Linked DNA regions of Homo sapiens: all the other regions are linked to region 6. The links are contacts of gene promoters, found by promoter capture Hi-C in blood cells and fetal thymus (Javierre and others, 2016). All regions are on one chromosome and are shown on one strand. Each heading gives the region's core, a stretch centred on a gene start or on the middle of the fragment in contact. The rest is flanking DNA. Distances are from core to core; before and after follow the strand shown. Region 1 overlaps DYNLT2 (dynein light chain Tctex-type 2). Region 2 overlaps WDR27 (WD repeat domain 27). Region 3 overlaps ERMARD (ER membrane associated RNA degradation). Region 4 overlaps WDR27 (WD repeat domain 27). Region 5 overlaps ERMARD (ER membrane associated RNA degradation). Region 6 holds the start of PSMB1 (proteasome 20S subunit beta 1). Region 7 overlaps PHF10 (PHD finger protein 10).

Evidence for each region. Contacts are between HindIII fragments. The CHiCAGO score rates a contact against its expected background, and 5 or more counts as called.
Region 1: a contact is called between a fragment that was not itself captured here and the fragment with the promoter of PSMB1 in region 6, in 14 of 17 cell types (total CD4 T cells, naive CD4 T cells, monocytes and 11 more). The highest score is 19.0, in total CD4 T cells.
Region 2: a fragment that was not itself captured here is called in contact with the fragment with the promoter of PSMB1 in region 6 in 1 of 17 cell types (total B cells); the score reaches 6.1 in total B cells.
Region 3: a contact is called between a fragment that was not itself captured here and the fragment with the promoter of PSMB1 in region 6, in 17 of 17 cell types (total CD8 T cells, monocytes, naive CD8 T cells and 14 more). The highest score is 39.1, in total CD8 T cells.
Region 4: a fragment that was not itself captured here is called in contact with the fragment with the promoter of PSMB1 in region 6 in 1 of 17 cell types (M1 macrophages); the score reaches 5.8 in M1 macrophages.
Region 5: a contact is called between a fragment that was not itself captured here and the fragment with the promoter of PSMB1 in region 6, in 16 of 17 cell types (M1 macrophages, naive CD4 T cells, total CD4 T cells and 13 more). The highest score is 14.8, in M1 macrophages.
Region 7: a contact is called between a fragment that was not itself captured here and the fragment with the promoter of PSMB1 in region 6, in 17 of 17 cell types (naive CD4 T cells, total CD8 T cells, total CD4 T cells and 14 more). The highest score is 26.9, in naive CD4 T cells.

The regions. Positions count from the first base shown.
Region 1 is chr6:169,739,653-169,743,334 of GRCh38, reverse strand. It overlaps DYNLT2 (dynein light chain Tctex-type 2), which reads left to right. Exons shown (of 4, transcript NM_174910.3): 3 at 97-255; 4 at 3,040-3,226. The coding sequence ends at 3,150. Among named protein-coding and RNA genes, the nearest start is that of DYNLT2, 10 kb to the left of the region's middle. The HindIII fragment of the contact is 6,040 bases long and covers 1-3,682 here.
Region 2 is chr6:169,590,647-169,594,251 of GRCh38, reverse strand. The region is part of intron 23 of WDR27 (WD repeat domain 27); the gene reads left to right. Among named protein-coding and RNA genes, the nearest start is that of WDR27, 110 kb to the left of the region's middle. The HindIII fragment of the contact is 1,774 bases long and covers 1,192-2,965 here.
Region 3 is chr6:169,755,955-169,759,822 of GRCh38, reverse strand. It overlaps ERMARD (ER membrane associated RNA degradation), which reads right to left. Exons shown (of 18, transcript NM_018341.3): 4 at 3,384-3,485; 5 at 3,015-3,104; 6 at 758-855. Among named protein-coding and RNA genes, the nearest start is that of ERMARD, 6.3 kb to the right of the region's middle. The HindIII fragment of the contact is 2,437 bases long and covers 45-2,481 here.
Region 4 is chr6:169,670,187-169,673,967 of GRCh38, reverse strand. It overlaps WDR27 (WD repeat domain 27), which reads left to right. Exons shown (of 26, transcript NM_182552.5): 3 at 1,572-1,713; 4 at 3,275-3,399. Among named protein-coding and RNA genes, the nearest start is that of WDR27, 30 kb to the left of the region's middle. The HindIII fragment of the contact is 5,121 bases long and covers 1-3,781 here.
Region 5 is chr6:169,774,548-169,778,645 of GRCh38, reverse strand. It overlaps ERMARD (ER membrane associated RNA degradation), which reads right to left. Exons shown (of 18, transcript NM_018341.3): 14 at 3,300-3,376; 15 at 2,581-2,706; 16 at 1,973-2,191. Among named protein-coding and RNA genes, the nearest start is that of LINC00574, 13 kb to the left of the region's middle. The HindIII fragment of the contact is 856 bases long and covers 2,412-3,267 here.
Region 6 is chr6:170,551,940-170,555,707 of GRCh38, reverse strand. PSMB1 (proteasome 20S subunit beta 1) reads left to right here and starts at 2,401. Exons shown (of 6, transcript NM_002793.4): 1 at 2,401-2,578. The coding sequence starts at 2,466. TBP (TATA-box binding protein) reads right to left here and starts at 1,339. Exons shown (of 8, transcript NM_003194.5): 1 at 1,245-1,339. RefSeq lists enhancers at 1,069-1,458, 2,269-2,648. The HindIII fragment of the contact is 7,721 bases long and covers 214-3,768 here.
Region 7 is chr6:169,719,739-169,723,752 of GRCh38, reverse strand. It overlaps PHF10 (PHD finger protein 10), which reads left to right. Exons shown (of 12, transcript NM_018288.4): 2 at 2,642-2,748. Among named protein-coding and RNA genes, the nearest start is that of PHF10, 2.8 kb to the left of the region's middle. RefSeq lists a silencer at 1-151. The HindIII fragment of the contact is 1,516 bases long and covers 583-2,098 here.

The DNA of each region.
Region 1 (3,682 bases), core at 721-3,220, 810 kb after region 6:
TATATATATATTATTTAGACATGTTTTCTACTTGAATTTTTATATAGAAAATATTTGGTTTGAAAATAAAAGTATTTTTCTTAAATTTTCTTAAAGGAAAGTCTTAAAGATGTCAAATATGATGATAAAGTATTCTCTCACTTGTCACTTGAATTGGCAGACCGCATACTGTTAGCAGTCAAAGAATTTGGGTACCACCGTTATAAGTTCATTATAAAAGTATTATTTATTCAAAAGACTGGCCAAGCAATAAATGTAAGTACCCCATTGATACAGGATCTAGCAATTAGAACTATAAGGCATCTCCTCCCTAGTGATTTGATTTTTATTGTGATGACTCAAGGGCATGCCATAGATTCTGAGGTACTTTTTGAAGGAAAGTATCATGTTGTTAAGTATATTTATTTCACTGTAAATTATTTGAAAAGTACAAACCAGCTGGGTTCGTTGGCTCATGCCTGTAATCCCAGTAGTTTGGGAGGCTGAGGCAGGTGGATCACCTGAGGTCAGGAGTTTGAGACCAGCCTGGCTAACATGGTGAAACCCCGTCTCTACTAAAAATACAAAAATTAGCTGGGCATGGTGGTGGGTGCCTGTATTCCCAGCTACTCGGGAGGCTAAGGCAGGAGACTCACTTGAGACTGGGAAGCAGAGGTTGCAGTGGCCCGAGTTCGCTCCACTGCACTCCAGCCTGGGCAACAGACTCAAAAAAAAAGAAAGAAAAGTACAAACCTAGAAGTAGCAATTTGGTACTACTAATTTATTAAATTGCACTGCTATTCTGTTCCTTGATCATATCAATTTTGACAGTTTAATGTCATTTAAGTTAACCAGTAAATTTATTTTGGGCACTAATAGGTGTTAGGTACTAAGGAAAATCAAGGAATGATAAAACACGGACCATGATTCTCAAGGAGATTTTACTCTACTTAAGGAGATAAAGCAGCACAATTTAGAATTCAGGGAAATAAAATGATAGGGATAATGTAAACAGCCTGGGTTTTGGAGTCAGATTGCCTCTGCCACACTTGCTGGCTGTGGCCTTGGCACAGTTTCTTCATCTATAAAATGGTGATGATAAAACTGGCTTCCTAGAGCTGTTGTGAAGATTAAATGAAATTATCTGTATTAAAATCCTTAACATAATCACCAGCACAGAGCCCTCAATAAACAGCAAGGTAATTATAAACATTATTTATTAATAAAGAGATAATATCACTAGGCTGTGTAATTATGTAAGGAGTTGGTAAGGAATATGTGGGAGTTGGAGAGAAAAGAGAGAAAAAGCTGTGTTTGGAAGAATCTGTAGAGGTTCCATAGAGGAGTGGACTGCATGATGAAGCATGGGGAGGGGGACCTGGACTGGCAGAGGGGTACTGGCGAGAGAACCGCCAGTCAGCAAGAAAGAACCGTCCTGGCTCCCATGGAGAAGAGAAGCTGCACCACATATGACATACAGACTTAAGAAATAGGGACGTTGTAGATGATAAGTGCTACAAAGAGAACATTAAGGTAGGGATATGACAGAGTAGCAGAGTGGCTACTTGGGATTGTTTAGAGAAGGGAGAACCCTCTGATGTTCAGATAAGAAGGAACCAGCTGTACCAAAGAGAAGGGAGAATGTTCCAAGCAGAGAAAACTTCAAGTGCAAAGATCCTGAGGCAGGGATGACTTGGAGTGCTTGATATGTAACAAGTGTAGCTGGACTAGTAGCTAGTAGATAGTGGCATGATGTGCAGTGGGGGAATGTTTCAGCTTATATTATTGTATAACAAACCACCCCAGAACTGAGTATCTTATAACAACAGCCATGTATTTGCTTACTTTCTGTGAGTCAGCTCAGCCTGGGTCAGCTACTTGGCTTTTCTGCTGGTCTCACTGATGCACTTGTAGCCCTCTAATGACTTACCTGGGCCTGCAGGTCCAAGATGGCTTCTGTCACTTGTCTGACTGGTGGGCTAGCTGTGGCCTGGGCACCTGGGTTCTCCTGCATGTGAGCCAGCATCCTCCAATAGGTTGAGTGGGCTTTCATAACATGGGGGTCTCAGCATAGTGTTCCACGAGTGTGAGAGCAGAAGCTACAAGACCTCTGAAGGCCTTGCTTGGAAGTTTCACAGTGTCATATTTTACAACTCATAGCAAGTCACAAGGCCAAGACTTATTCACAGGGTGGGGACATAAAGTCAACTTCCTAATAGGAGAAGCCATAAAGAATTTGGGCCTTTTTCGGCCAGACGTGGTAGCTCATGTCTGTAATCCCAGCACTTTGGGAGGCTGATGCGGGTGGATCAGCTGAGGTCAGGAGTTCAAGCAGCTTGGTCAACATGGTGAAACCCCATCTCTACTAAAAATACAAAAATTAGCTGGATGTGGTGGCAGGCACCTGTAATCCCAGCTACTCAGGAGGCTGAGGCAGGAGAATCACTTGAACTCAGGAGGTGGAGGTTGCAGTGAACCGAGATCACGCCATTACACTCTAGCCTGGGAAATAAGAGTGAAACTATGTCTCAAAAAAAAAAAAAAATTGGGGCCATTTTAGATCCTCCACAAAGAAGTGGGCTGGAATCAGATCACATATGGGTTTGTACACAGAGAAAAGGAGTTAGAATTGTCCGTAACAGCCTACTTGTATAGTTACTGCCATTTCTTCATTTCAAGGCAAGGCCCTGACAAACCTCTTTGGCTGAAAATCTTTAAAGGGTGGGAAGACTTCCTTATCATGGACTACATGGCAGAGTCATACTGTATGCAGAGCCACTACATCCCCATTCCCAGGGGCCTTCTGCTCCTGGCCCTGGAAACACAGCTAAGGGAGCCTCTCTCTGTTTAGAGAAAGGCCAGCCTCCGGTAAAGAAGAAGGATGGGCTGGGGCAGCGTCATTCTCCAGGCTCTTTATGAAAGGGAAAACCAGACAAATTACATCTTAAAAATAATTTCTGAGATACTGATGCATTCATTTTTAAAAAACTAGTGTAGATTTGAAAATTACTTCTTAATATGTTCAATCTAAAGTTGGTCTTTACAAAATTTCTCTCACAGATTGCCAGCAGATGGATCTGGGACATTGCATGGGACAGCTGGGTCGCAGCTAAACACGAAGCAGAATCCTACGTGGCACTGGTCTTGGTGTTTGCCCTTTATTATGAATAGCTCATTACAGGTACTAAGGATTGTTTACTTCCGAACTTTTCAAAAATAAATGAAATTTACATATTTGTAAACCTCATAATATTTCTGATTTGCTATATTCTTATTCTCATTTGAGGCCTTTCAATTGTATTATTTTAACAACAAAGTAGAAGCCAGATTTTTATATTTATACTTACTGTTATATTAACTAACATAATATTATGCCAAAGTAGTATAAAAGGTGTATGCATGTGTGTCTGTGTGTGTATATATGTATGTATATACAAATTCTTATAGTAGAGTATAGGGAAAATATCATTTTTGTAAGATTTAAGAAAATGATAATTTGCTACAGGAAATTAAAATGCAACCTTGTAAAGTATCAAATTCAGTAGATGTTAAGATAGATTTTGGAAATTTCTAATGATATTTTAATACTTTGTATTCATTGTTTTGAAAGGAATTACCAAGTTTGAAAGAAAGATGTTATTATATTTCATAATTCCCTAATATCCTCCCGCTCCAGCCAAACTGCTTACAAGTGTGTAGTCAA
Region 2 (3,605 bases), core at 829-3,328, 960 kb after region 6:
AAAACCAAAAAATTTCTTGCTTCTAAATATTAAAATTCCATCTGTTAAGCAACTCTTGGTTTAAAGGTGTCAAACAAAATAGGAAATTGTAGAATTTCTTGAAAATAATGTTGTTTCTAACATGATATATCAGTGTCTCTGGAATACCCATAAACCAGTTTTTGAAGGGAAATTTATAGCACCAAATACCTATATCACAGACGTTTTTAAAAGGGAAAAAATAAATGAATATCTACCTAAAAAGCCAGACAGGGAACAACAAAGTAAATCAGAAGAAATAAATGGATAGAGATAAAAGCAGGTGATAAGTTAGAAAACAGAGAATCAGTAGAATTAATAAATAAATTAAAACACTAGTTGTGTTTTTTGTTTTTTGTTTGTTTGTTTGTTTGTTTGTTTTTTTGAGACAGAGTCTTGCTCTGTTGCCCAGGTTGGAGTTCAGTGCCGCGATCTCAGCTCACTGTAACCTCCGCCTCCCGGGTTCAAGAGGTTCTCCTGCCTCAGCCTCCTGAGTAGCTGGGATTACAGGCGCCCGCCACCACGCCCAGCTATGTTTTTGTATTTTTGGTAGAGATGGGGTTTCACTATGTTGGCCAGGCTGGTCTCAAACTCCTGACCTCAAGTGATCCACCTACCTTGGCCTCCCAAAGTGCAGGGATTACAGGCATGAGCCACCATACCTGGCCAAAACACTAGCTTTTTAAAAACACAAGCAACAAAATAAACTTAATAGTGCAATTTTTTTTATAAAGAGAGAAAGCTTAATCTATAATAAGAAATGAGGAGGAGGCAGAAGCATGGAGCAGAAGGATTTTGAAAATCATGAGACTGCTTCTCATAATTTGTGCAAATTAATATGAAAGCCTCTATACAAATGGTTGAGTCACAGAAATTTAGTTTATCAAACTGGCCCCCAAAGTAGAAACAAATTTAACAGGCCACTTTTCGTAGAAGAAATAGAGAACGTTTCCTAAGAACTCCTTGTGAAATAGTACCAGGCCCATGTGCTTTCTCAGGGGATTTTACCAACCTCTTAAACATCAAATAGTCCCAAAGATACTTAACTGTTTTAAAGCATAGAGAAATAAGGAAGACATCAGACTGCTTTTTGAAGTAACCATAACTGATAGAAAACTTGATGAAATTTCAGAAAGGAGTTATATTTCATTTATGAATATCAATTGAAAAGCTTAAATAGGAACATAGAATTAGTGCATTAACAATAATTTATCATGTCCAAGTGGGGTTTATGCGTAGAATGCAAGCATGATTCACTATCAATAAATCCACTAATAATTCCCTCATAATATTAACTGATACAAAAAGAGGACTCTTATAACCATGTTCCTGGATGCTTCAATAAAATTCTGGATTCATTTCTGCTAAAACACCCGGTAAAAGAGGAATCCATGAATGCCTCTTTCAAATGATAAAATGCTTATCTCAGCCCAAAAGCTGACATCTTACTGAGAAAACTTTAGAGGCATTCTGTGGTTGGGAACAGAGCCAGAATGTTCATTAATTCCATGACTATTTTACAGGGTATTGGAGGTATTTCTCTTGAAATTAGACAGGACAACTTAACAGATATTACCACTGAAAAGAACAGCTAAAATTATTCATAGGTGACAAGATTGCATATCTGGAAAACCCAAGATAATTAGTGGCCAATATGAACAATAAAATAATTAAGTGAAAGATTAGTAGTAGTATTTAAACTAATATATGGAATTCAATGGTCTTTATAGATATAAAAAATAACCTCTGAAAAGTTATAGTGGAAGAGGAGAACTCATTGAGAATAGCCTCAAAAAGGATAAACCATTCCGGTATTAACAAGATTTCTGCAAAACCTGCATTAAGAACATTTTTTTCCCCCAGAAGTGTAGACCTGGACAAACGCAAAATCCTAACTTGTTCTTGGATAGGAAGATTTAGTTTCCTAAAGAAGGCAGTTCTCTGTAGGTAATGTGTAGATTTAACACTCCCCCAACAACAACAACAACAAAATGCCAGTAGGTTTTTCTGTAGCTGTACTGTTAGACTGAAAGTTACTTGGGAGAATAAACAAGTAACAATGGTCCAAATACCCCCGGAAAAAAGAACATGATGATGAGGAGAACTTGCCCTGTCAGCCGTTAACCTCTGTTGGAAAGCCTTTCGAATTAAAACCATGTGCAACTGGTGCACGAATACCAGTATTTCTTAGCTCCTGCCACGGAAGGTGCTTGGAAGCAGTGACATTCCAGCCATCACCCTTAGTACCCTCTTTGCAACCTCTAAATGCCGTTCCCCACTAATAGAAGCCAGAACTCCCTGGGTGGAGAGCTGGTTCCAGGTCTGTGGCAGAAGACTTACAAGATGAGCCAGGGACATCTTGTGCCAAAGAGAAAAGAAATCAAAGGGTAATGGAGTCATATAACAAGGCCACAGGCAACAGCCAATTCCCAAGGCCTTAAAGCTGCTGCTGCCTTAGGCATGCACTACTGTCTGCTGGTTAGACCAGCGGGCAGCACCACACCTGTGCCGTATTCTGTTGGCCAGCGGAGGGCTAGCTGACCATCCAAAGAGTAATGACTGTGATTGACTTCAACATTGTATATCTAAACCCTCATCATTTTTGATAATGCTCCCCCCAAAAAGCTATAGCTAAAAACAAAAACATAAAATGTCATTGGTCCCCATTTGGAGGTAACTAGGGCACCTGTCCCTTAGTCAGAAGTGTGTCTTATAAAGGAAAATAATTAAACATTTGTCTGCCTTTCCTGTTCGGACTGTATTTTAAGTAAACCAAATACCCTACTTGGTAAGGGAAAGTTATTTCTTAGAGAATTGCAGACAAGTAGAATGGATGAATGGCAGAATTAGAAAATCACCCTCTTCAATCTCAGATGGAGTAATTGACTTAGGCAAATGTCATCAGTAGGTGAAATTATCAGATGAAGATCATGGCCCAAAGGAAGCTTGAATAATAGACATTTTGCTTAAGAACACATACAGATGGCCAATGGGTACAGGAAAAAAGGGCTCACATCACCAATCATCAGGGAAATGCAAGTCAAAACCATATTGAGACACCACCTCACACCTGTTAGAATATCAGAAAGACAGGTGATGATGAGGATGTGGAGAAAGGGGAGCTCCCGCACAGTCGGTGGGAATGCAAAATGAGGTAGCCACTGCGGAAAATGTGTGTTGTTTCCTCAAAGAGCAAAAAGTAGAATCCACATGATCCAGCAATCTCACTCCTGGGTATTTGTCCAAAAGAATTGAAATCCGTATATGGAAGAGATACCTGCGCTTCCATGGCCATTGCAGCACTCTTCACAGTATCCACAGTGTGGAAGTACCCTAAATGTCCGTCTCAGGGGAATGGATAAGGAACATGGAGCGTAGACACAGAATGGCATATTATCCCAGGCCTTAAAAAGTTACTGCTGCCTCAGGTATTTACCACTGTCCACTGGTTAGACCGGTGGGTGGTACCACACCAGTGCCCTGTTCTGCTACGTCTTTACAAGAGGAAGTGCCAGAGAAAAGGGTGGGGTTTATTACTGTGTGTGCCATATTTATTTTGCCAGACCTTGATGGAGGTTGACAAGAGT
Region 3 (3,868 bases), core at 14-2,513, 790 kb after region 6:
GAGATCTGTTACAAAAATGTACTCAATCATGCCTATAAAAAGCTTCACTGTGAAAAATACAAATTTAAAATTAAGAAAGCAAAGTTAAATTGCATGAAACTGTCCGATCACGGTGGCTCATGCCTGTAATCCCAGAACTCTGGGAGGCCGAGGCGTGCAGATCAGTTGAGCTCAGGAGTCTGAGACCAGTGTGGGCAACAAGGTGAAATCCTATCTCTACAAAACATACAAAAAAGTTAGGTGGGCATAGTGGCGTGTGCCTGTAGTCCCAGCTACTCAGGAGGCTGAGTCGGGAGGATCACTTAAGCCTGGGAGGAGGAGGTTGTAATGAGCTGAGAATGTATCATGGCACTCCAGCGTGGGTGACAGAGTGACACTCTATCTCAAAAAAAAAAATTGCACAAAATTCTCTCGATGTAGGAATTAGACTGTGCAGTAGTTGGGCAGCACAACAGCACCACAGACACTCTGATGAAGACCCTAATGAAACTCAGGGTCTCCCACCCACCCAGGACGTGAATGGCATAACATCCTTCTGGTGTCACCCCTGAATTGCCTTTGGGGTGTAAGTCACTGAAATTATAACCCAGTCATCACTCTGGTGACTACACTAGTAATATTCAATTTTAGCTTCAAAATCCTATCTCAAAACTCACTTATCTTTCACAAAATCTATTTCCTTCTCATGAAATTCAAAATTTAAAAAACTCTTTGGTAGATCCAAAAAAGGAAGAAAATGTCTTCACTTGCAACTTACTTTGGAGGAATTTCTTCAGGTGACGCAAACCCATGCCATAAGACGTTACGCAGGTTGAGACCACACGGAGAGCCAACGAAGACTTTTAGCACATTCATCTAATCCGCAAATCATTACATAGTTAATTATACTGAATTACTGAATAAACCAATATAGTATGAAGATAACATTTGTGTTCCTCTTTTTAACTGAGAGTCAACAGTTTTGGCTAGTATATAGCAGTAATAATAAAACCAACATTTACTGAGTGTTTAATATGTGCTAGACACATTTTGTACATGTACATCAACTCATTCATCCTAAGAACAACCTATGAGGAAGGTACTATGATTATCCCCAGCATCTAGGTGAAAAAAATACAAGCATGGAAAGGTGAAACCAAGGTCTCAAAGGCTACAAAATCAATATGGGGGATAAGATCTGACCCAGGTTATCCTGCTTTAATAAAGTTGCTTCAAATGTGCATAATATCTAAATAAAATGTAAAAAGACAATGATATGATAAGCAGAAACATATCACTGTATTAAGCAGCACGCAATTGTGTGGTTAAACAGAGGCAGCAGGGCAGATGCCCGAGCAGCATGGCTCCAGGCTTGAGCCTCCACTTCCTAGCTGTCTGACGTGAAGCCCATCACTTATCCACCCCACCATCTATCTACAGAGTGAAGAAAACACCCAACCAGGCGTCCTAATAAATGGACTGCAGTCATGTCATGCCCAGAGAACTGCTTTGGGTTTGAGGCGCCATACTTAGAAGAAACTCAGAACATAATGGAAGATGTTCAAAGACTAAAAGAATTCATGTCATAGGAGAAAGTATGGTTGAGCCTCCAGAAGACTCGAGAAGGAAGTGAACACTGTCTTCATGCATGTGAAAGATGGCTGTTGAGAAGGGAATATGGACGCATTCTGAACTTCCCTCAAGGGGAAGACCCAAAACCAGGAGGTGGAAATGATCAAGAGCAGTTCTACTGAATGTTGGAACATTTAACAAGCAGTTCTTCTATGCAACTTCAGGAGATCTTTTTGCTCTACCAATAATTTGTGAAATACTCATGGTTCACACTATCTGGTCAATCAGATGTATAAATGCCAGTGACCTGGCAGCTGAAGGGGCCACAAGTGGGCAGAAGGCCCATCACATATAAGCAAGTACCAAAGAACAGATCGAAGAAACAAAATGTGTTTGAGAATTCAGTGTAACAAGAGGTTTGTACTTTTTATCTTCATTCCATGCACTCCACAAAAGAAAATGATCTTTAAGCGGACAAGGAGTAAAGATCCACAGAAAAGAATGGAAAAGCTCCACTGAAGACAGATTTCTTTACTCCAAAAATCATCTAGCACCCTGGCTTGGCAAGCACAGCTTCCACACAAGGCTCTTCTGGGTTTCTCCATCTTGACCCTGCCTCAATCAGCTGCCTAAGGTTATTCATTAGTCCTAAGTCTCTTGATCATGTGCCCTTTATGAGATTTTAATATAGTATAGTAACTGCATGATTTTTTTAACATCTGAATTTTTTTCCACTGTAAGTTTAAATGGTTTCAAAAGATAATTTCACGTTAAAATTTTCAAATAAAACTGTATTATCACTCATTTAAAGGGTTAAAGTTGTATTCTGGATTTAGTATTATAGTTATTAATATGTAATTGATCGAGGCAACATGCTTCACATTGGCCCTGTGGTGCCCCAGAGTTATTCACACTCGGGATAGGAAAGCTTTCTATGTGCTGGAGGAGGGGCAATTTTGAAAGGGAAGGTGGGAAGGGAGAATATGCTTGAATCACTGATACAATTTTTCCCTAAAGCATCATCAGTTTGGGAAGAACAAAAGCTCAGCATATGTGAATTGTTGTTTTGCACTTACTCCGTGATATGGTTTGGCTGTGTCCCCACCCAAATCTCAACTTGAATTGTATCTTCCAGAATTCTCCCATGTTGTGGGAGGGACGCAGGGGGAGACAGCTGAATCATGGGGACCGGTCTTTCCCGTGCTATTCTCATGATAGTGAATAAGTCTCATGAGATCTGATGGGTTTATCAGGGGTCTCCACTTTTGCTTCTTCCTCATTTTTCCCTTGCTGCCGCCCTGTTAGAAATGTCTTTCTCCTCCTGCCATGATTCTGAGGCCTCCTCAGCCATGTGAAACCGTAAGTCCAATTAAACCTCTTTCTCTTCCTAGTCTTGGGTATGTCTTTAACAGCAGCATGAAAACGGACTAATATACTCCATGAGTTTAGATGAACAAGCTTACCACAGACTGACTGAAGACTTGAGCAAGCTCCTCAGATGAAAGCAGATCTCTTAAAAGAAAGGGGCATTCCTTCCCAATCAGTAAAAATACCTAAAATTCAAACAAAAATTGTGTAACAGTTGTATTATGAGCCAATAAACATTAAAAACATTATCCATGAAGCAACTGTTTGTACAAATGAAGGGTGAAAAGTACTTAGACACCAATCCTTTGATTTCATAATCATTCAAAAGGGAAATATTAAAAATTCATACTAAATGATTTTATCTTATAGGAAAATAATCAAGAAAACTGAGGACAACTGTAAAATAGTTTCATGTTCATTCAGATAATTTAATGGGCCAATAATGAAAGAGTTCTCACACTTACATCACCCAAGGCTCGTTCTAGACACGATGTCAGTTTCATTAAGCTAAGAGAAATAGCAGGAGATTGTAGACTTTCCAAGGCATCAAATATTTCAGGAAATAACTATTTACAATAAAACACATATTAGGATGTACACTCTGAAACTACTTCTCAAAGCAACAATATTATTTATTGAAATTCAAACCTCGAGAGATTTCAACTGCCATATTTTATTTTCAGTGAATAAGTAAACATTTTCTGTATAATTATATTGCCTAAAGAATCAATAAAAATATTTTAATAGCTAAAGAATTCCTTGAAGGTTCTTTATTTAAACGTTTATTGAAAGCAACAAATCTGGCACAATTTAAGTGGAAAAGTCAAGCATTTTGACCTCCATCATGTTTCTCCTTTTGATTTGGCTGAGCCCTCAAACAGATACACACAAGGCACTCATCCTGCCATTTAAAAGTGCTAGTACAAGGGGGACATGATGATTCCTTCAC
Region 4 (3,781 bases), core at 488-2,987, 880 kb after region 6:
GTTCATCTTTACTCCTTGGGTTTTGTCTTTTTTGGGGTTCCCATTCTAAGCCTAGGGGGTTTAGCAGCATGCTCATCCCTCTCACCTTAGTAGATTGTATTCTAGGCAGACATTTACTTAAAATCCATTCATATTTCTTTACGGAAAAAAATTGTAGAGTTATCAACATTAAGGCAATCAGCTGTATCACAAAATTACTTTGTAATATGACAGAAATCTTTTCCCTTCTCCCAATATGATAGTTCTGTTTGTGTCCCTGAGGATGACTCATTTAATTACACCATTTTTGTGCCCGTAGCCCCTTGAATCTCAGCTCCTCAGCTGCCTTTAGTGGAATTGTCAGAAAATTGTCTTTATAGTAGATATCTTTATGGGACAAGTGACCCCAGCATCTGGGGTCACTTCCCTCAGTTTTTTTCTGCCCTATATATAATCTTGTTACCATAATTCTTCAACGACCTAGTTGCTTTCTGATGCCTTCAAAATGTGTGTCTCTCTGTGTGTATATGTATATGTGTGTGTGTTTGTATATATATATAGTGTGTGTGTGTGTATATATATATTTAATTTTGTCCAGTTTTTCTTGTAATTCTCATCAGTAGGATTGGTACTAATGAGGTGACGTATCCTGCCTTTACTAGAAGTGGAATTCTCCAGTGATATCTCTCATATTAAACTGCCTGTTGTCTATTTAACATCGCCTTATAAGCATCTCAGCTTACTATGGACCCCCAGTCCCATCCCATTTTCCCTCTGTATTTTGTTCTTGAGACATTGTTCGCCTAGGTTTTTAACCTCAAACCCTATCCCTTTGCTTTTGTTTTTCCCTCCATCCCTCCATATCCATTGGTCACGGAATCTTCAGTCACCATCTCCTCTCCATCTCCATCATCACTGTCTTTCTTAGTCCAGGTCTTTATTGGATTTCCCTTGAGTGTTTCATGCATTCCCTTCTGTCTCTCCAGCCCAGTATACCCCCAACACTCGTCTGCTCCATACTTGTAGCAATGTTTTGTTCCTGGAAAACAAATCTAGTCACTGTATTATTCTGACTGTGCATTTTTTGTTGGATTTTAATTTCCTAGAGTGCTATCAACATTCCTTGTGTAGTTGCCAAGGTCGCCACACCTGGGCCTCACCTTTCTCCAGCCTCCTCTCACTCCTTTGCTTGTCCCAGCCGTTTCTTACCCATGCCTTGTTTTCCCAGGGACCTCATTGCTCCCCTCATTCCTCTCCTTATTCTTCAGTTTTCAGCTCAGCTGTTACCTCTTCTGGCATGTGGTGGAGACATGTTCTATATTTGATTAACTAATAAGTGATAAATGGAAGAACGAGGTAGCCTGTATCTTTTTATTAGTGTGTGTGACAGTGAATAGCAGTGAAATGGTTAACTTGAGAGAATAATTTAGTAGTACATAGCAGGGATTTTAACAAATGAATTAACAATGAATATGTAAGATAAATGTATTTGAAAAACTCAATCTTTTAATTTCTTAGGTTTGAAGTTATGTTGTTATACTCTTATTTTTAAATGTCTGTGATCTGTGTTTTATTTTTGTTAATTTTCCCAGCTTCTAATCCTACGAGGACACCATCAGCCAATTACTGCTATGGCTTTTGGAAATAAAGTGAACCCACTTCTAATCTGCTCAGCATCACTGGATTATGTTATAATGTGGAACCTGGATGAATGTAGAGAGAAAGTACTTCAAGGTAAATGAAAATCTAAAACATGTTTTTAAAAACCTGCAAAAGGAATAACTCATCCTTCAGTATACTTGGTACCACCCAAGGGGTGTTTCCCTTGGGTAACAGCAGTCCCTCGGGGGGTTTGGGATAATTTTGTACTCTCTTTACCTTGAACCCAGGCATGCAAGCAGGCGCTTTATATGGGAAGGGCCCCAGGCCATTCAGACTTACGGACCTTTGCTGTCTGTTATGCTGATCTTATAGGCTCATTGGTTTTGATCTTATGTCCCTTTTTATTTTAAGAACTGTCCATTTTGTATCAACCTGAAAACATGTAGGAAAGTTGAAATATTCTTTCCTTGCACAGCAAGGGGTCTTGAGCACCTGTAATATTTCAGGCTGGAGACACAGTGGTGAATAGGAAGGGCTTGGTCCCAAATCCTGTGGAAGTCACAGCTCAGAGTTTGAGAGAGACACTGTGTAAGCCAGCGACTGAGTGGCTGTGAATTGTGAGTGTGCAGAGGAGAAGGCAGATGAGGCCAGGGCAGCGTGCACATGCATGGGAGCCTTTGAGAAGCAGGATCTCGGAGGGGCATGTGCGCTGAGGGTGAGGGTGAGAAGGGATGAAGGTGCCAAGGCCCTGGGAAGAGTGAGAACCTGCCTGTGTGCTTGGAGCATGCTGATGTTAGGAGAGTCTCATCTGAGGAAGTCGAAAAGTTAGGTGGGGACCACGTTAAGGAATTTGAGTTTTGTGCAATTATATAGAGAAGTTAGAGGATTACATTAAAACATAAATGCAAAGAGACTATAAATCTATGTATTCTATGTAGGGACATGAGTACGTGTCCCTCTCTAGACTGGGTGGCTGTGGGACATGAACATGTGTGTCTCTCTAGGCTCCGGGTGCCTGTGGGACATGAGCACGTGTCTCTGTCTAGACTTGGTGGCTGTGGGACATGAGCACATGTGTCTCTCACAGGCTCTGGGTGGAGTATATCTGCATTTTGCTGGTGATAGGTCCATGGTACACACTAGGACCAGATGACCTTGCCTGCCATTTTTTCTTTCACCTGTGTGGATTTGCATGACGGGCTCTGCATCAGGCTGCAGCTGCTGCACATGTCCGGGTCTTGGGAACCTCCTGGCTGCTTGTGGGTGTCCTGTCATTGCTTAGTCCCTGGAGGCCTGGGTTGGATAGGCTCCTACTCCTTTCCTTCCAATCAATGTTAGCTGAACCTATACATGAGGGTGGACATGGGGTTGGATGTGGGTGAGAAGCATCGAAACATGCAGTTTGATGTGCATGATTCTCACTGCACAGGTACTGCAGCCTCCAGAGAAAGGCATCTTCGTGTTTCGATGCTGAGAGAGTCTCTGCAGGGAAGTGCTGCATTCCCCAGGTTTTCAGAAGACTTCTGTATATCCAGTATTTTTGATATTCTTAAAGAATCAAAATCACATCAAAGCTCATTGTCATTCTCTCAGTAATTTTAGAATAGAGGGTTACATTCTCAGTACTTTTCTCAGATTAATGTAATGCTGAATGCATTTGGTAAACTGGCACTAATGGTGAAACTCACTCTAGGGCTGGTCCCTCGAGGGACTGTCATGGGCTCGCTTTTGGGAAAGGTGCTGTGTTTACAGTTGAGCCTGGATGATCATGTTGTTGCCGTGTGTGCTGGAAACAAAATATTCATGCTGGATATTGAGGTAAGATTGAAATTCACGTGGATTTCACGGAAGGGTTTAGCTGATGGGGCCTCCCAGGTTCTGGGACCTTGCCCAGCGGTCTTTTCTTTTTTCCTGTACTCCTTTTTTTTTAAGCTATATCTTCAATTTAGTTTACTTTTATAAAATCATATCTTTATCTTGCAATTGGAAAACCACTGGTATCAGATAGCAATATTTATATAAATATTAAAACTCTTTATGGAATCTGGGTGTCAGGTATGACTTTAGAGAAACATGTTCTGCAAAACTATTATTTCTCAGATATTCCCTGATTGTAGGCATCCTTCCTAGCATAGCGCTTTTGTTTATATCTTTTATCAAAATGTTCTTTTCATCAAGAATCAGACTTTTCCCACCAGGG
Region 5 (4,098 bases), core at 1,590-4,089, 780 kb after region 6:
TGCTGGTAAGAGTGTAAATTGAGCAGCACCTTTCTGGAGGGGAATCCAGCGATATCTATGTAAAGCTTTAAAAACAGATACCACTCAACCCAAAAATTCTAGAAATGTATCCAAAATGGCCATTTCTTAAGGATGTAGCACATTCTAAAATATACTCTATAAGTGAAGAAACCATAATGCTGTTAATCTGCTGTTAATCAAGTTAATCTGCTGTTATATTTTAAATCCAAATATAATCTGCTGTTAATCACGTTAATCTGCTGTTATATTTTAAATCCAAATATTCATTTAGATAGATAGAACCCACATTTCCACATGCCCAAATTACAAACAATATTTAAAATAGTATGTACTACAACTTTCTATGAAAATCAGCACAGGAAGTCCTCAAATAACATCATTTCATTCAACATTGTTTCGTCACAACATCAGTGAGAAAAGAAATGGATGCCCCAGGAGGGCCACTGCCCGTGTGGAGAAGCACATTCGTTATGGGTTCGGCATGGGTTTTCTCCTGTCCCCCAGTCCCCTCCACATCCCAGAGCTGTGCACGTTAGGTGAACTGGCGCATCTCCATGGTCCCAGAGTGAGTGTGGGTGTGTGACTCGTCCTGCGACGGAAACGCGTCCTGTCCAGGGTGGGTCCTGCCTTGTACCCAGAGCAGCCGGGATAGGCTCCAGCCACCCACAACCCTGACCCTGAACTGGAATAAGCAGGTTGGAAAATGAATGAATGAATGAATACAAATTATAAGAACTTGTAAAGTCTACCATAATCATACAAGTGCTCGACAGTAAGTGACAGATACAAAAGTGCTCAGTGACCCACACATTTGTTCCTGTTGGCGCTGGAGCTGTGGGTGGGGGGAAGGGGGGCGGGCCTGGGGAGGTCTTGCTCTGCAAACATTATTGCCTCATTTAACCACCACCTGGACTGCCATCACTCACTGCCTCACCAAACACTGAGTGGTTATCTCACTTGTTTTTAATTCATCTTTATTAAATGTCCATAGAGTTCATATATACCTCAATGTTTAACATTGTAAGTGTTTTGGGTCTTCATTTAGAAGCTTGGTAATATTTGTATGACCAGAAACATGCTGTGGGAACTTAACTTTTGTTTCTATCATGAAAGGAAAATAAATCTCAGGACCCCAAACTCACTAAGCCAAAGGGAAAAGCCAAGCTGGGAACTGCCTCAGGCAAACCTGCCTCCCATTTTATTCCTAAATAAGGTGGCTACAAAGAGAAAAAAGCTACATACAGACCTCCCTCATAATTTGTCCACAAGGAAATTCCTCATGGGCCTCAAGATCTTTACCCTGAAAGAGTTCTGCTGAATTTCTCCCTGGCAATGTAGTTGCTAGCTGATCTTCCCAGGTGTGGGACAGGAAGTCATCCCCCAGCTCACCTGAGACAAATGCCTATATGATTGCTTCCTCTGCCCTATGTAAAATGCAGCTTCACTGAGCCACACTAAGGTCTAAGTGACTATTCCTCTACCCCCACTCACAAGTAAATTGTGTATTCACCGAAAGGCTCATCAAAGACTCAAAACAATGCAATCCTTTGTCTCCTGTCTACCTATAACCTGGAAGGCCCCCACCTTTGTATTTTCCCGCCTTTCCAGATGGAACCAATGTACACCTTACACCTGCGGACTGATGTCTTATGTCTCCCTAAAATGTGTAAAAGCAAACTTCGCCCCAAGTACCTGGGGTACATGCCGTCAGGGCCTCCTGAGGCTGTCACAGCATGTCCTTAACCCTGGGAAAGTAAACTTTCTAACTGGATTGAGACCTGTCTCAGATACTTTGGGTTCACACTCAGTTGTGGACTCCAAGTATATCAACACCTGTCGATGGGGTTCAGTGAGGGGCTACTGTGTGTGTCTGGAAGTGAGGACTAGAACTGCATCTGTGACAACTTCCTGCCCCACAGTGCCCCTCCAAAACAGGAAAGTGAGCGCGCACCTACTCCACATACGCAGGTAGTTCTGCCGCTGGCGAGACCGCAGCGTCCTTTCCACCCACTGCCTGTGTCTCAGCTCTGAGGCAACGGTGACCTGGCTGGACACACGGCGGCACTGTTCGCTGATGCTTCGGAGCACAACCAGCACTTCCAGCACAATCCTGGGGCAGAACAGGGTGGGAACAGGTGTGCTGCAGAGCTCACGGAGAAGCTGGGGCCACCTGCAAACAGAGCCAGACTTGGAGCAGGCATCATGATCCTCACCTGGGCCTCACTCTCCTTCTGCACCTGCAAGGCTGCGGCTTTCTGGGAGCCAGGGCTAGCGGCGTATCGCTGGTTGGTCTGCAGGGACAACCGTGACACGCGGCAAGTGTTAACTAAACACACTGAATTGTGGCAAACAGAATGTGGCATTCACAGCCTCATCAGATGTGCCAAGCTTGCACAGAGATTGTCAAAACTTATCTCATAATTCCTCCTGGAGCAGTAACAGTGGGATTCTAAGACTACTACCAAGTTTATAAAATCTAAAACATAGAAAATGCTAAGTTTGCTATGCTAATCTGCTGAATCAATGTTTCAACAGTTGTCAGGATGTCCTGGAACTTACGTCTCAGTAGGAAGACGATCCAAGTCCTTTAACACACAACGATTCTCAGGCATATGGTGATACAGCTCATCCGTCATTTTTGTAATCAAAGAGTGGCAGGCATTTGTTTCAGAATTATCTTCTAATCTGAAAAACAGAAAATATTTAAAGATACGTGACAATTAAAGTGCTCACATCAGTGCCTGTGCACAAGAATGTTCAATGGTTCACTGAGCAGCGACCTGACTGTGAATCTCACTTTCCTCAAATATAAAATGGAAAAAGCCACCATGACAATACAGTGGAGAAACAAACGATGCCATATGCCAAGAGCAAAGTCCAGTGACGACGAGACGATGAACCACCTGCGTATTCTTCCTGCTGAACAAGGATGTCTGCTGTTGTTTACGATTCCAGAATTTATGTCTCCATCCCTACTTCTCTCCTGAGCTTCAGACCCATCTTTCTTCCTATCTACTCAGGGTACTTCTCATGGACGCCACTGTCTACCCACAAAACCTGCCTCTCGTTCCATGTTCAGTCTCCACCAGGGCCCCATGCCAGTTGGAAGATCGCATTCAGCGACACTTCCAGCTCCCCACAGCCTGCATCAGCCACCAAGGCCCAGAAATTCCTCCTTCCCCTTTTATCTTCCCACAGCCTCGTTAAAGAAGAAATGCTGCTGAAACTAATAGTACCAGACAAGCTTGAGGTCAGCCAGGCCCCAGGATGCCACGCACCTGACGGCTTGCCGAGTGAGTTCTTCGGGGAAAGGCAGCAGAGCCCAAACCCTGATGCTCTCCTCACAGCTCAGCACCTGGGAGGAAATGTTTTATTGCTTTTGTAGATTTCACAGTAACTTCCTAGAAAATCTGTGTTTTTATGGATGTTACATCACTCTCTAGAAAATACGTAAATTATTACAAATTCTAAACATTTTAAAACCAGATGGTGGGTGTCAGTTCTTCAGTACATTCAGATGGGGGAAGGCTGCGGAAACTACCAGTGGATTGGAAGGGAGTGAACGTCTGGGGTGGCTATGACCATGTCCACAGGTTCTTTGGACACCTGCCATTGAGAGGGAGGCCCCCACCAAATCTGCACGAGCTCTGGCGACTGGCCTGGAACCAACAGAACACAGCAGGTGTGACGATGCTGTGCAGCATCCAAAGCCATGTCAGAGGTGCAGGTGCCTCTCCAGTTCAGGCCGCACTCGAGGTGCAGCAGCTGTCACCTTGGGACTGTCCCTGCAGGACCCCCATGAAGCCCCTGGCCAACTTCCAGCCTTCTCAGATGGGACACCCACGAAGCCCTGGGGGACCACAGCCATCAACGCCCAGGTCAGGCCACAAGACAGATCCCTCGGCAGATGCTCCCCATTTCTAACCCACTAGCGTATGAGCAAGTACAACGGTGGCTGCTGACACCAGTGAGCGTGGGTGGTATCAACAGCAGGAATAACGGAAGCCCAGGATGCAAAGCTGCCTGAATACCTGTGAGATGCCAGGAGGGGGACAGGAAGTGGTAAGTACCCAAAAT
Region 6 (3,768 bases), core at 1,152-3,651:
CATGAATGAGCCCATATACACCCCTGGAAGAGAAGACAATATAGACTAACAGCCAATCACTGTGAAGAGAGCGCAGTGTTTTCACAAAGCAGGGACCATCTAACTTGGGTCTCACAAGGTGAGTAGGAATTTACACATCAGGGCTTCAGACAAAAGAGAAATCAAGCAGAAAGAGACAGATTGAAAAAGCATGCAGTATGCAGGCAACAAGCTTAGTATGACTGTATAGAAGGTCACTGCAGCAGATGAGACAGCACATATTGGTGGGCTCATACTATCAGGAGTTTTCAATGTTATTGCATAGGCAATAATAACAGTTATGGAATTTCGGAAGTGCAGTATGAACAGATCTAATTTGGCAAGACTAGATGAATTTGAGAGGAGTAAAACTGGAGGACGGAAGTTTCGTTTCAGGAATCTAAGGTTGAGGCAAGAGATAATGACGGCAGGATTTAAAGCCATTATAAGTATGATTAGAGATTTATCCAGGACCTTCGGTGGCTTCAGGCCACTTTTTGCAAGTAAGTCTACAGAAGAAACCGCACAGTGATTACTGCACTAATTTATCCTCAGAAAAGAGTTGTTTGCTGGGTATCTTCATCTCCTGGAAATTGAAACATCAAATCCGATATTTTTTGGAGGCAATCAAATTAATTCTGCATAGCCTTCTAGTGTCTGTATAACTAAATGAAGCACAGTCTTTTCACAGAAAAGTCTACCTAGAGATTTGGAAAACCATGATGGCCTGAACCGAGAGACGGGAGACCCTGCAAATAAAGTGGTGTGTATTATATCTTAAGCGCTACCGTGCCCGCTGTCTCAGGCTTCTGACAAAATATTTAAGTCTCAATGTTGGCAGCAAAACAGGCGGGCACAGATCTGGGTGAATCTGCTTCTAACATGGAGAAGAAGCGGATGGCAGGACAGGGCAGGGTAAACTTAGGGTCTTCGATGCAAGGGACTGTCCTGTCCCGCCTGCCGCCGCCCAGCCAGCCAGTAGTACCCTGAGCCCCACAATCGTACGATGGGAAGCTGCCTGCGAAACACAGCAGAGTAGGGCACCAGGCGGGAGTGGCGGCCGAGTGGCCGTTACAGGCCGGAACGGCGGCAGCACGAAAGGGAGGAACGTCCCCCGAGGGGCCTGCACGCGCGCCAATTCCTAGTCTCTTCCCCACCATTGCCCCCAGGCCTCAGTGCAGTGGTGGCCTTCGCCCGAACCGTCAGAAAAGAGTACAATCTGTTACCTGGGTCACTGCAAAGATCACTATGGGCCAGCGGAAGCGAAGTTAAACAGCCGGCGGCCCAGGCGCCCGCCACAGCGAACCTGCCCGACCTCACTGAACCCCTGGCGCGCGTTGATAATGTCACTTCCGCCAGTTCTGCCCTCGGCTTCAGCGAGTTGCTCCCACTAGGGCCGAGGCCATGAGAAGTGTGAGCATAGGTCACTTCCTGTGTTTCCATAGGTAAGGAGGGGCGAAGCTCTTGAGGAGTTCCGGGGCGGGGCCGCCGTGCCACAGCCATCTCTAATTGGCCCTTGCTGGACGTAGGAAAGATCGATTTTTAAATGGCGTGTGTGTGTATATGTGTGAGTGTGTTTTGTTGTTGTTGTTGTTGTTGTTTAAAGCAACTAGCGGCGTTACCTTCGACAAGTTACCTGACCTCTCCCCCGCATTTTTTTTCTGTAAAATTGAATAATGATAACAGTGCTTACCCTTGGGCTGTCGGGAGATTGACAGAGATTGACAGAATCAGTGCCTGAGCAGTGCTTGGCACTCAGTAAGCGCGTCCTCCTTACCTGTCAGCAAGAACGCTAGCTGATCTTCAAGCGTGTAGAATGACAAGGAACACTAAGCAAAACAAACAGCTTGTGTTTACACATGCATTTATATTCAGTTCTGCCACTCCCAGTTCATGCACTGTTGTCACATGGCTCTTTCCGCAGTTGTTTCTTAGTGGGACTTCAGCACGCCTTGATTTTCCCTTCTGTAGTTCATTGTGGCGTAATCATATGTTATACTGCTTGTTTTCTTTGTACTTTTTATTATCAGTGAGGTTGTGAGCTCTTTAAGGATAGGAAATGTTATATACATTTTTTATTAGCCAGGACAATTAACGTTCCCACCGTTATTCGAGTTGCCGTTGCGCCATAGTTCTGACAATTTTTTTGTATGGTCAGACTTAAATTTTTGTCCATTGGGGTGAATTCCAATGTTTTCTTCGAGGGGGAAAAAAACAAAAAACAAACAAAAAAAACCCTTTACATCCCTGTCAGCGCTTTTTGGAATGGGCGGGATTCAACTACCAAAGGGACAAGCCGCCGTGCAGCCCTCCAGGAGCAACGACTAGCGTGAGATAGAGAGGCCGGGAGCGAACTTCAGGAGAAGCCGGAAGTGGCGTAACGTCCGGTCAAGGCAGCCATCTCGCCGTGAGACAGCAAGTGTCGGATCCGCAGGCGCAGCCGTGCGATGTTGTCCTCTACAGCCATGTATTCGGCTCCTGGCAGAGACTTGGGGATGGAACCGCACAGAGCCGCGGGCCCTTTGCAGCTGCGATTTTCGCCCTACGTTTTCAACGGAGGGTAAAAACCCCAGAGAGCTGCGGCTTTCACTTTCGCCCTTCCCCCATCTGCTGAAGCCTATTTAGGAGTCACCGCCGTGATGGCGCTGCCCCGGGCTCCTGCAGGCCTCAGAACCCTGAGCTGAGGGGGTCCGCACAAGGCCGGTCTCCCTGCCGTCCTCTCATGCCCTGTGTTTCCCTCTTCAGGCTCGCTTTGCTCAAGTTTACTTGGTGATTGCGATACAGCCTTGGTTTTTAGGGTTTCCCATTACAGTCATGTCATTTGAGTTTTTATGTGGACCGCCACTCCGTGCTCCTTGCTGCTGTAAGACAGTAAAGTAGAAATTGAAACATAGCCTCTGCTCTGTGGAAGACCATTAAAACTGGACCTCATGTACACGTTTCTTATGCCAGCCGGCGAGGGTAGAGGGTTAGCGTCTGAAACTTAAAAGTTAGGGTTGTTTGGTCTGTGTTGTTAGATGCATAGCTGGGTTGGTAGCCGAGATGTCTAATTGTAGCCGCCTGATTTCTGTTATTTCTAATTGTAGCAGTTTAATCATTTTGTTTTATTTCAAATAGAAGGTGGGATTGGCTGAGCAAACTTAGTTTCATAGATAAGTGCTTTTTTTTTTTAACGTTTAGCTTAAGTTCAGGAAAACAAAATACTCAGAAGATGGACCTTTTAGTATGTGTGTTCTTGTATGTTATGTTCAAGTTTTGGTTTTTATTTTAATTACCAGCTTTATCTTGAGTAGTATAATTTTCCGTGGTGGCACGCCAGAGATTTAGGGTTATAGAAAGATGCTCTGTTTAAGACTCTTGACAGGGAAGAGCTGTAAATTGAAACAGTGGTTATAGTTACCAATCAAGCCTTGTACATTAAAATATACACACGCAATTTGAACGAACCGATGGTTCTTAAAACAGAAAATATTGGCTGGGCAGTGTGGCTCGCACCTGTAATCCCAGGACTTTGGGAAGCCAAGGCAGGAGGATCATCGCTTGAGGCCAGGAGTTGAAGACCAGCCTGCGCAGCATAGCAAGACCCCATCTCTACAAAAATAAATTTTAAAAACAAAGCAAAAATGTTAATTGGTTCCTCATAAATTTGAAATATAAATGCACATTTTGGGAGTGTGTTAGAAAGATAACGAAAGTCTGATTTTAGCCTTGGTTCTGCCACTAAAGGACACTTTGGGTACTTCTGAACTT
Region 7 (4,014 bases), core at 91-2,590, 830 kb after region 6:
CTCGGGGGCGTGGGCCCAGGCCGGGCGCCGCGCCTGAGACCGGGGGTGGTCGGCGAGGCGGGGCCCCGAGGTGAGCCCGCGGCCTCTAGCGAGCAACAAGTGCGGGCGGGCGGGGGACGCGGCGCGGCTTCCCCGAAGTTGGCAGCCGGCCCTGCTTGACAAGCTTGTCCCCAAAACGCCTCCTCCTAGGCCAGCCGTGGGACGGAACGCGCCCGGGGCCGAGAGAGTTGGCCTCGGAGGGGCCTGCAGAAGCGCGCGTTCGCTCAGCGTTCATTCCGCGCATAGTTTGCCGAAGTGTTTGAACGCTTACTGCAAAAACCGAGTGGCGAACGATATGGAAAATCAACACACTCAGTGAACTTACTGTAATAACTAAGTTAATACGCAAGCGTCCGGATGTTTTCAGCGGAAGTCTGTTAAAACTTTTTACTGCTTGAGGAGGTGAAAAGAAATTGGTGCTTGTGGAGAAAATGGAGATGAGCAGTAGTGTCACGCATCAAAACGTTTTGGTTCTAAAGTTAGGCTAGCAGTTTGTGACAGAAAGTTGGAAGGGAGGAATGATGTTTTAAAAGCCTGGAAGCTTGAAATTGGATTGAAATTAGAAGGCGGTGGGAACTGGAATGCTGCAGAGCCAGCCAGCCTTCGTGCGGTGCGCGGTGTGCCGTGTGCGCGTTGGCAGGGGAAGCCGTCCTGTAGCAGCCTAGCCGGGCTGCGCCTGCTTGGGAGCTTTTCCCGTTGCGCACGTCCACCGTGCTGTGAGACTCATTTTGAAGGTTCCTCAAAGGCTGTCGTCAATGGAAGTAACTAGATTGTAAGACTCTGAATGCACATCCTTGCACTTCCAGCATTTGACGTCTGGCCCGGCACCTGGAGGGCACTGAGCCAGTGCCCCCTGAGTGCATTCTTGACCCCTGAGCCCTAGGAAGGATGTGATGCATAGAAATTCATCTGATCTGTAGTTGGAAACCACCTGTAACTCTGGAAGGCACATCTCTGATTTAGTATGTTTGGGAGTCTTTGAAAACATGGGCCTCTGTATCAGTATTGCGGTTACACGGAAATTCTTACCTTATTCCGTCATGTATTGGGAACAATATTGCTGTTACTACCTCCCTCAAGAAAAAGGCCCGCTGCCCAGATGCTCACTTTATATAATAATGCCTTTGCCTAGAATTTGTAGTAGTAATTTAAAACACTTGATGAAATTGTAGTCTCAGCTTTTTTGAGCACTTTGCATTTTTAACTTTATTTTTGTATATTTTTGAGTGTCTCAACTTTTTAGCTAAAGGAAAATGTTTTTAAGTTTAAGGATATAAAAATCCTTAAAATGCTCACCAGTAAAATAGAAAAAATACTGGAATGTTTAAAATGAGTTATGTTGAAAGTATTGAATATGCAGTGTTGCAGTTGTATGCAGATACTTATGCAAATTTTCAGAGAGTAGATTTAGACTATGCAAAGCTCTTTAATGAAATGCTTATTTTATAAGGACTGAAAAAGAATATATATTTTACTATTTGGAAAAGAACCAGTTAATTCCTAGGAGCTAGAGACATTTGAGACTTTATTATCATCATAATCATCATTTTAACTAATATTTATCAGATAACTCGCCAGTCCTTGTTCTAAGTACTTTTAATATAGTAGCTCGTTTAATCATTGAATTAGCCATGTAATGGGGCACTATTATAGTCTCAAATTTTCGGATAAGGAGATGCTCACAGAGAATAACCTACTCAGCTAGTGAGGGACAGTGCCCAGTGAGAACCCAGGCCGTCCAGCTCTGGCATGCCTGGCCACTATACCATATTGCCTCTTTATATTCTTTTGCAGGATTGCTTTCATTTTAATATGTAGCAAGAGGACTATAGTATTTAGCAAAATTGGATTAGCGTTGAAAGCTATATTACATTAAAAAATTATGATTTTTAGACTTTAAGCCTTGGCTAATAAGTAAATAAATCAATTTCCTAACATCTGATACTTTTTCTGAATGAAATGGTTGAATTTATAACCTTGATGTTCTTGCCACATAATGGATTACATTAAAAATATATAATCTTCTTTAAAAAAAAAATTCCCCTCCCCCTCTCAAGCTTCTTTTTTTGGTGTGTGTGCTGCTATATTATAGATTGATGACCCTTATTAGGGTATATTTTTGCTAAATTTTAGCAGTGTAAGAGGAAGAGTGAATAGTTAGAATTGTTTTCGGTCTCATATGTCCCCTTTTCACAGGGACATAAATGCCTAAAGTAGTCAATTAAAATAGTCCTATGAACCGGCTTCAAGTTGAATTGAGAACTGTAAATGATCCATACATTTTTTTCCCCCTGAGCTTGGGTAGGAGAGTTTGCTTTAATCCTAGAGTGATGCAGCAGTTTGATATGTTTATGAAGAGCAGAAACCAAAGCAGATTTGCATTTACGGGTTCATTGAAAATGTTCTTATTTGGATTGGATTGAAGATCAGTTTTAAATTTTATTCCAGGTCTTGCTCATGCCAAACTCTTGGACCCTTTTAATTATAATATGAAGTTAATACTTGTATGACTAGTTGTCCTTAGACAGTCTTTCATTTATTGAGACTTACTGTTCTTTTATTCTTTCTCTAATTATTATTTTTGAATCTTTTAAATGTATAGGATGATAATGAAGATAATTCAAATGATGGGACCCAGCCATCCAAAAGGAGGCGAATGGGCTCAGGAGATAGTTCTAGGAGTTGTGAAACTTCAAGTCAAGATCTTGGGTACTGTCATTTTATCGGTTATTAATATTTTTTGTGATGTTCCTCTTTGCCTTAACATCCTCTTCCCTTTCCCCCAGCTCTGGCAAAGGCAATTATTAAAAATTGTAGAATATTTTCTTCCTGTTCTATAATGTGCCATCAAAGTTGGTCTTGCTACTGAGTGTAATTAAAAAGCAATTTTATGATAGTAAAATACATACATACATAAAATTAATCATTTTAACAATTTTTAAGTGTGAAATTCATTGGCATCAGTTACATTCACAGTGTTGTGCAGCCATTACCACCATCCATTTCCAAAACTTTCACTACCCCAAACTTTATAACCATTAAGCAATAACCTCCCTTTCTCCCTCTATTTAGCGCCTTGCAACCATCATTCTACTTTCTATTTCCGTGAATACGACTACTTAGTTACTTCATATAAGTGGAACCATAAAATATTTGTCCTTTTGTGGCTGGCTTATTTCTCTTAGAACTTTGAATATCTTCAAGGTTCATCTTTGTAGCATATGTCAGACTTTTTTTCTGTTTTTAAGGCTGAATAATACTCCATTTTATGTATATACTGATTTTGTTTATCCATTCAGATGTTGATGGGCATTTGGGTTTCCACCTTCTGGCCAAGGTGAATAATGCTGCAGTGAGCATTGGTGTTCAGAGTTTGTGTTTTCAGTTTTTTTGGATGTTTATCTAGGAGTGGAGTAGCTGGATTATATGGTAATCCTATGTTTAATTTTTTGAGAAGCTGCCAAACTGTTTTCCATAGGGGCTGCACACCAATTTACATTCCTACCAGCAATTCACAGTTTCCAGTTTCTTCATATTTCTCACCAATTTGTTATTTTTCATTTTTTAAAATAATAGTTACCCTAAAAGGTGTGGAGTGATATTTTATTGTGATTTTGATTTGCATTTTCATAATGCCTACTGATATTGAACATCTTTTCATCTGCTTGGCCATTTGTATAGCTTCTTTGGAGACATGTCTATTCAAGTTCTTTGTCCATTTTTTATTTGGGGTTTTTTTTGTTGTAGGAGCTTTTTAAATATATTTTATATATTAATACTTCATCAAAAATATGATTTACACATATTTTCTCCTGTTCTGTGGGTTGTCTTTTCACTGTCTTGATAGTGTCCCTGTACAAAATTTTTAATTTTGATGAAGCCCAAATTTTTCATCTATTTTTTCTTTTGTTGCTTGTGCTTTTGGTGTCATATGTAAGAATCTACCTTCAAATCCAAGGTTGTGAAAGATTTCTA